Regions from separate parts of the Homo sapiens genome. Here region 1 is linked to region 2. The links are contacts of gene promoters, found by promoter capture Hi-C in human tissues and cell types (Jung and others, 2019). All regions are on one chromosome and are shown on one strand. The core of a region is centred on a gene start or on the middle of the fragment in contact, and the rest is flanking DNA. Distances in the headings are between cores, read along the strand shown. Region 1 has its middle 17 kb from the start of KIF26B. Region 2 holds the start of SMYD3 (SET and MYND domain containing 3).

Region 1 (4,536 bases), core at 7-2,506, 1.4 Mb after region 2:
AGTCCACATGGACATGAAGATGGAAACAGTGGACACGTGGCCTCCAAAGTGGGTGGGCAGGGACTTGCAGGGAGCAAGGGTTGAAAATGTACCCATCAGGTATGATGTTCACTCTCTGGGTAATGTGTACACTAGAAGCCCAGTATACAATGTACCCACGTAACAAGCATGCCCATGTACCCCCTCAATTTGAAATAAAATAAAATTTTAATAAATAAATAAAGCAGTTCTCCCTAAAGACAGGCAAGAGATAATGGAATTAATGTAAACTTTAATTTACATTAATTAAATGTAGTTAATGTAAACTTTAATTTACATTAGTTATGTAAATGAATAATTTACATTAATGAAATTAATTATGTAATTAATTACATAATTAATGTTCAGAAATAATGTAAACTTTTGCTACATTAAGGGAGGCCTACTTCCTGCAGGAAGCGTCTCTCGATGAGTCCCACTGATCCATGACACTCTTCACAGTCCCTCTGGGACTGCAATCTGATCTTCCCTAATCACTAACAATATAGCTATGCACGTGCTATCCATTTGTGTTTTTATTTGCCCTCTTTTCTCTATTAAATTGATTACTCCTGAAGAGTTCTAAACCCACTGTGCAGAGCTAAGGTGCAAAATGATTGCTAATTACAGAGCTCTGACTCAAGATTTGAGACACCCATTTAAGGGTTCAAAAATCTGTGCATTATAACCATTCGACTCTAAGCTCCTTGAGGCTGGTAGCCAGGTCCTTAATCTTTGTGTCCCTAACACTCAGCACAGCACTGGGTGTGGCTCTGGTTACAGGTATATGGAGGAACTCAGTATGTATCATGAATCTAGTGCGTTGCTTTCATGTGAAATAGCTCAGTTGAAACTTTTTCTTTTTTTTTTTTTTTTGAGACAGAGTCTCCCTGTGTTGCCCAGGCTGGAGTGCAGTGGCGCAATCTCAGCTCACTGTAACCTCTGCCGCCCAGATTCAAGCAATTCTTCTGCCTCAGCCTCCCAAGTAGCTGGCGCTGCAGGCACCCACCACCATGCCTGGCTAATTTTTGTATTTTTAGTAGAGATGAGGTTTTGCCATCTTGGCCAGGCTGGTCTCAAACTCCTGACCTCACATGATCCATCCACCTCGGCTTCCCAAACTGCTGAGATTACAGGCGTGAGCCACCGCACCCAGCCTGAAACTTAATCTAAAATATTGCATTCTGTTCTGAACATCTTATTGCCCGAAAGATAAATGTAGTGTATGATCACAGTAATTAAACAACTTAGAAGGGATGGCTTCAAAGTGAAGACTGAAGCAACTAGAATATGTATAAAATCTAAAAATAACTGGTAAAACAAGACTGTTTTCAGGAAGTCCATGTCTAGGGGTGAGAACAAAGAGAGAAACACACCTAGTTTAGGAGGTTTCAAAGGAGGGATGGATTTAAATTAAAATTAAGAAAGTGTAGGCAAGCTTTCAAGGTGAAAACAATGACCGTAAAATCTAGCAGACTGTGAAGTCATCTTCCTTAGTTACTGGAGGCCCATCACTGTTGAATTTTAAATGACACCTGGAAGATTCTCTAGTGCAATATTCACTTCTCTGCCAGCATAGAGCATTATGCTTTAGCAGTTTGGTTTTCAGAATAATTTATACTAAGTGATTAGGACTTCCCCCATATTCTTCTCTGGATAAAGTTAACATCGTTATTTCACTTAGAACTGTGAGAAGCCCCAAAATACAAAAAGCCTAAATGATATGCCAACACCACCAAAGAAGTTAGTGTGGCAGGGAAAGGGTTCGAATTCCAAGTTGCAAGCCACACTTCTCCCTACTTACCCCTCTCCGTGCCACAGTGAACAAGCGACTTTGCTGTTGCAGGATTCCCTGACCCAGAGCAACATACTTCTTGAGACCTACTCATGGCTTCTGTTTTGACCTCCCAAGTGCTACATTCAGGTCATCTTTATTTTTATGTTATTGACAAATTTACATAGACGTTTAAAGCCTTTCCTTCATGTATGCTCTTGTAGCTGAGATGCCCAGAACTGGTGTTTCCACCCCTTTATGGGGGAGGGGGAATGTAATCTAATGTTTAGAAGCTCAGGCTCCAAAGTCAGAAAGCCAGGGTTGAAAATGTGGCCCCACAGCTTTCTAGCTATGCAACCTTGGGCAAGATACTTAGCCTCCACTTTCTCTTTCCTCATCTATAAAATGAGGATGAAGACTGGGCACAGTGGCTCACTCCTGTAATCCCAGCACTTTAGGAGGCTGAGGCAGGTGGATCACCTGAGGTCAGGAGTTCCAGACCAGTCTGGCCAACACGACGAAACCTGATCTCTACTAAAAACACAAAAATTAACTGGGCGTGGTGGCGTGCACCTGTAGTCTCAGCTACTTGGGAGGCTGAGGCACGAGAATCGCTTGAACCCAGGAGGCAGAGGTTGCAGTGAGCTGAGATTGCACCACTGCATGCCAGCGTGGGTGACAGAGTGAGACTCTGTCTCAGAAAAAAAGAAATGAAATAAAATAAAATAAAATGAGGATGAATAATAATGCTTGCCTCATGAGGACTAAATTCGGTAATTTATATGAAAGGCTTAGAATAGTACTGGACACATAGTACAGCTCAATACACTTAAGCTATAATCATTACCTTTTGGTAATTTAAGGTAGACATTCCCTCCACATGTGGACTCTGAAATCTGACAGACCTCAATCCTTGAAATTCATCTGCATCATTGATCTCTTTCTTGGAGAGTCTCTTCCCACAAAAAGGATAACTTGGGGGGAAGCAAGAAGAGAACACAGGGTGGCATCTTCTGCCTCTGCTGGGTCGTCGGCTGGTTCTCCACTCTGGTGTGCCAGCTCTGTACTGGGGAGTAGAAAGCCTGGGGACTATATTTCCCAGTATACCAACTAGGAGCATTCCAACTTAGATTGGGCCGCTGAGAGGCACTCGAGTGAAATTTGGAAAATAGAAGAGAGGCAAGCCGGCTTGCTGCTCCCCCTTCAACAGGTGGCAAACACGGCAAGCATGAGTTTGCCTTGGCATTTGAGCATTTCCCCAGTGAATCCCACCTTGGTACTGCAGGCAAATGTGACCCTGGCAATGGTTTCTGCAGGTTCTGAAACTTGTTGTTTTTCCTGTAACTGGTGGTGGGCCTGAGGGCAATGAATGGCTTTCCTGAACCTTCGCACCTCTAGCCTTCCAGTGATTTTGAAGCTCTAATTCCTAGATCCCTAAATCTCTTCTTGCTTGAACAAAGAAGAACACTAGAGAAGTTACATTATGTGACTTCAAATTATACTACAGAGCTAAAGTAACCAAAACAGCATGTTACTGGCATTAAAAAGGACACATAGACCCCCGGAACAGAATAGAGAACCCAGAAGCAAATCCACACACCTAAAGTGAACTCATTTTTGACAAAGGTGCCAAGAACATACACTAGGGAAAAGACAGTCTCAATAGATGGTGCTGGGAAAACTGGATATCCATACACAGAAGAATGAAATTAGACCCCTATCTCTCAGCATACGCAAAATTCAAATCAAAATGGATTAGAGACTTAAATCTAAGACCTCAAACTGTTACAAGAAAGGAGTCTTGATCCAGACCCCAAGAGAGGGTTCTTGGATTTCGTGCAAGAAAGAATTCAGGGAGAGTCCAGAGAGTAAAGTGGAGGCAAGTTTATGAAGAAAGTGAAGAAATAAAAGAAAGGCTACTCCACACACAGAGCCCTTGGGGCTGCGGGTCGCCCATTTTTATGGTTATTTCTTGATGATATGCTAAACAAGGGGTGGATTATTCATGCCTCCCCTTTTTAGACCATATAGGGTAACTTCCCAACATTGCCGTGGCATTTGTAAGCTGTTACGGTGTTGGTGGGAGTGTAGCAGTGAGGATGACCAGAGGTCACTCTCGTCGCCATCTTGGTTTTGGTAGGATTTGGCCAGCTCCTTTACTGCAACCTGTTTTATCAGCAAGGTCTTTATGACCTGTATCTTGTGCTGACCTCCTATCTCATCCTGTGACTTAGAATGCCTTAACTGTCTGGGAATGCAGCCCAGTAGGTCTCAGCCTCGTGTTACCAAGATCCTATTCAAGATGGAGTTGCTCTGATTCAAACGCCTCTGACAAAACTGTGAAACTACTGCAAGAAAACATTGGGGAAAATCTCCAGGACATTGGTCTGGGCAAAAATTTCTTAAGCAATACTTTGCAAGCACAGGCAACCAAAACAAAAATGGACAAATGGGAACACATCAAGTAAAAAAGCTTCTGCATAGCAAAGGATGCAATCAACAAAGAGATGAGACAACCCACAGAATGGGAGAAAATATTTACAAACCACCCATCTGACACGGGATTAGTAACCAGAATATATAAGGAGCTCAAACAACTCTATAGGAAAAAGTCTAATAATCTGATCAAAAAATGAGCAAAAGATTTGAATAGCTATTTCTCAAAAGAAGACATAGAAATGGCAAACAGGCACATGAAAAGGTGCTCAACACCATGATCATTAGATAAAGCAAATCAAAACTGC
Region 2 (4,182 bases), core at 805-3,304:
AGAATCACTATGGAGGATGCTCTTGGTCCTGAGGTGAGCAAAACAGCACGCCCTGTGAATGGAGCCGGCTTCTTTCCTGGCCACCATGCTTGCTGGATGGGCCCACGGAGCAAGTGGCCTTGAGACGGGCATGGGAACGGAAGAGGCTCAGCATCCTGCACGTGCCCTTACCGAGGCTCACCAGGCTGACACCACTGCTGAGCGCCCCTCCGTGGATGAGACACTTGCACCCAGTCTCTGGGTTGGCACCATTTCCCAGGAGGACCAGCTGGCCACCTGCTGGCAGGCTAATCACACTGTGGAGGGGGCTGAGATTGGCTTTCACTGCACCAAGCCACAATGTGGACGTGGATTTGCCGGCCCTGCAGTGCACACAGCACTGCTTCTGACCAGGACACCCCATTCACAGCTGGGGATGTGCAGCATTGCGCTCCCACCTCAGGGCCTTGGCTCTGCCACCTCGACTTGGAATGTTCTCAGCTCCCTCCAGGCTTCTAGAAGCATCTGGGACACAGCTCATGGCTGGATAAGCACCCGAGGCCCCACAACCCAAACAAGCTTCCCATCCTCATTTTATTTTTTGTCAAACTTATGAAAATTTATTAAGATATGACTTACATCCCTGGTAAGTGCACAGCTTAAAAGATATTCACAGATGGAACACACCAGCCCCCAGATCACAAAGCCAACCATGCCCAGCCCCTCCCAACACCCCCAGCCCTGAAACCAGTGTTCTGACTTCTGACAGCACCACGAGCCTGCCTTTTGTACTTTACACTCATGGAAGCATAACCACCTTCATGTTTTAAAATAAATGTTTACTTTTGAAATGACTTTAGATACACAGAAAAATTGAAAGGCACTATAGTGTACTCCTACACCTTCCATCCAGCTGCCCTTAATAATGACATTTTGCATTACCATGGCACGTTTGTCCAAACTAAGAAATTTAGGCCGGGTGGGCTGGGCGCGGTGGCTCACGCCTGTAATCCCAGCACTTTGAGAGGCCGAGGCGGGCGGATCACAAGGTTAGATCGAGACCATCCTGGCTAACACGGTGAAACCTCGTCTCTACTAAAAATACAAAAATTAGCCGGGCGTGGTGGCAGGCGCCTGTAGTCCCAGCTACTCAAGAGGCTGAGGCAGGAGAATCGCTTGAACCCGGGAGGCAGAGGTTGCAGTGAGCCAATATCGTACCACTGCATTCCAGCCTGGGCGAGAATGAGACTCCGTCTCAAAAAACAAAACAAAACAAAACAAACCCCAAAAACAAAAAAGAAAATTAAGCTGGGTGTGGTGGCTCACACCTGTAATTCCAGCAATTCGAGAGGTCGAGGCAGGAGGTTCAGGTTCACTTGAGGCCAGGAGTTTGCGACTAGCCTGGGCGACATAGGTAGACTGTCTCTGGAGGAAAGTAAAAAGCATTAGCCAGGCATGGTGGCGTGAGCCTATAGTCCCATCTAGTCAGGAGGCCCAGGCGGGAGGATTGCACATGCCTGTAGTCCCAGCTACTATGGAGGCTGAGGCAGGAGAATCGCTTGAACCCGGAGGTCAGAGGTTGCAGTGAGCCGAGATCTCGCCACTGCACTCCAGCCTGGGCGACAGAGCAAGACTCCGTCCTAAAACAAAAAAAAGTTACAGTGCAAAGTACTAGTTGTGATGTCATGATGCCTGCAACTTTGAAATAGTTTAACGACAATACGTGTATACATAGCTACAGGTGGGGAGAGAGTGACGAGCAGAAATGGCAAAGTGCTAGGTTGTCTGATTTAGGCGGAGGTATATAGGTGTTCACTGCACTGTTTTCAACTGTTCCGTATGCGTTAAAATGATCGTAATACAATGTTAGAGGGAGAAAAAAAACCCCGCCTGTCTTCTGCGCAGTCGCCATGGGCACGAGCCGCACGCGGAGCCTTACGACCACCTTCAGGTCCCACACACTCCACTCCAGCCGTCCCTCCAGACTCCATCTGCGCATGCTCTTGCCCCACCGCGCCCGCCCCGCCCCTCGGGCGTACGTGTGCGCGCAGGGCGCAGGCGCGCGGGTCCCGGCAGCCCGTGAGACGCCCGCTGCTGGACGCGGGTAGCCGTCTGAGGTGCCGGAGCTGCGGGAGGATGGAGCCGCTGAAGGTGGAAAAGTTCGCAACCGCCAAGAGGGGAAACGGGCTGCGCGCCGTGACCCCGCTGCGCCCCGGAGAGCTACTCTTCCGCTCGGATCCCTTGGCGTACACGGTGTGCAAGGGGAGTCGTGGCGTCGTCTGCGACCGCTGCCTTCTCGGGTGCGTAAGGAGCGCCCTCGCCTACCTGAGTCGCGAGCTGTGTGGGGTGCTGGGGAGGGGGGGGCGTCGGGCGGCCGGCAGCCGCGGGACTCCTGCTGGATGGGGCTGCACAGGCAGCTTGGCGGTGCTGCCCCTGACGCGCGTGTGCCCGGGGGCGGGTCGCTGCTGACAGGCCCCGCCCGGACACCCCCCTAGGTTGCCGCAGCGGGGCTGGGAGGGGGCCCAGGCTCAGCCACTGCCCCCCAACCTGGGCTGCGGTGGAAATGGGAAAGCCATTGGGCAGACTTGAGGGGGAAGCGTTGTGCCGGGGATAATTTTGCTGGGAGACGAAAAGTCTGTGTGCTGGACAGTCTTCCTTGGTGCGGCTGTGGAAATCACACGTGGCGGGCGTGGGGCTGGGTGGGAGCTGGGATGAGTATAAATCAGGCTCCCCTGCAGAGGCCCCGCCGGTAAAGCATCAGGCTTGCAGCAGGTGGAAGAATCTTGATGTCTACGGTGCACCTCTGTGGTCTGGGTTGTGTGTGGCCTGGGGATACGAAGAGGAACGGGACCTCCTCAAAGAGCTGATCAAGTGAGAGAGAGAATTACAGTGTACCAGAAGGGCTGAAATAGAGGGGCAATTAATGTGCTGTGGGAGCATCAGACACGGGTCCCCCGTGTGCTGTGCCATTTAATGGCTGTGCAGGCATGTCTAACTCTTAACCACCATTCTAGATGCAGGGATTCACGTGAAGGTGTTTTGGAAGCCTGGACGCGCTGTGCCGGTGTAAAGTGCTATGTGAAAGCAATTTATGGAAATGTGTAACATACATGAATAATAGGAACTGCATTCAGTCAACAAATATTATTGAGCTTCTGTGTGCGAGGAAGAAGAGTTCTATTTTGAGATGAGTGCGATGATTTTGTGCATGGCCGCTTTTCAGACCTGCCAGTCTGAGATTTAGGTGGGTGGAGGTGGGACGGTAAGTGCAAAACTCGTATCTGTAATTTGACCATTGTTCTTACTTTGTTCTCATTTGATTCATAATTCAGGAATATGACTTTGCATTTTAGAGCTACCAAATAATAATTTTGTCTGTTGCTTTCTGAAGTAATGATAACAGCGAAAACATCTGTTCGGGAGAGAGCAGCATCTTGAAGTTTTTGTAAACTGTGTGGTTGAAAACAATTCGTTCCTTTCAAGATAGTTCTTGGAACAGAAAAGTTTTGGAATGAATAAATGGTGACAAATTGGCAATTGAATCATTAGAGCTGAAGTTGAGTCTTGTGACACACGGAATTGTGCATTTCCAAAATAAGCTACACAAACCCTTTGTGGGTGGGATGCTTGTTGATTTACCATACTATTTCATTAGTCTCATTCATTTTTCCTGTTTGCAGTAACTGGGGATTTAAGCAAAAAAGGAATTTAATGAAAGAGTTTTGGGGGAGTTCTCAGTGTTGCTTTAAAGTCTGCCAAGACTTGACTGGGCATCGGCTGAACCAAGTTAGGATTGCACTGCAAAAGTAGCTGGGGCTGGGATCTGGGGTGTATATCACTTCTGTCGCCTGATAATATTGGATTCTGCAGTAGGTACCACGAACACCATAGACACTGGACCCTGGTGCTGCTGCTGCTGCTGCTCCTTGGGAAACTCACTGTTGCTGGAGAGTGATTCTCTCAACCATTCTTCTTTGTGATACTGGCTTTTATTCAAAGTCCTCAGTGAGTGTCTTGGATTGGCTAAACTTAGGTCACTGCCTGCACCCCTAGCGCGAGGGAGGTTGAGACGGTATTTAGCCTTTTTGGCTTTTAAGATAGAAGGCAGGCTCACTCTACTTCCCACCGATAGTTATCCAGTGGGGAAATCAGCAAACATAAACATAGAAAAAGGGATATAAGTAAATGCTAAGCATCTAAACA

Evidence for each region. The method cuts DNA at HindIII sites, captures the fragments that hold promoters and counts their contacts. A contact is called where the count stands out against the background at its distance.
Region 1: a contact is called between a fragment that was not itself captured here and the fragment with the promoter of SMYD3 in region 2, in 1 of the 25 tissues and cell types used here (lymphoblastoid cells).

Annotation. Positions count from the first base shown.
Region 1 is chr1:245,136,160-245,140,695 of GRCh38, reverse strand. No RefSeq gene overlaps it. Among named protein-coding and RNA genes, the nearest start is that of KIF26B, 17 kb to the left of the region's middle. The HindIII fragment of the contact is 3,211 bases long and covers 1-2,861 here.
Region 2 is chr1:246,505,151-246,509,332 of GRCh38, reverse strand. SMYD3 (SET and MYND domain containing 3) reads left to right here and starts at 2,054. Exons shown (of 12, transcript NM_001167740.2): 1 at 2,054-2,279. The coding sequence starts at 2,116. RefSeq lists silencers at 1,195-1,427, 1,917-2,096, 2,367-2,416 and enhancers at 2,102-2,602, 2,603-3,103. The HindIII fragment of the contact is 21,800 bases long and covers 1-4,182 here.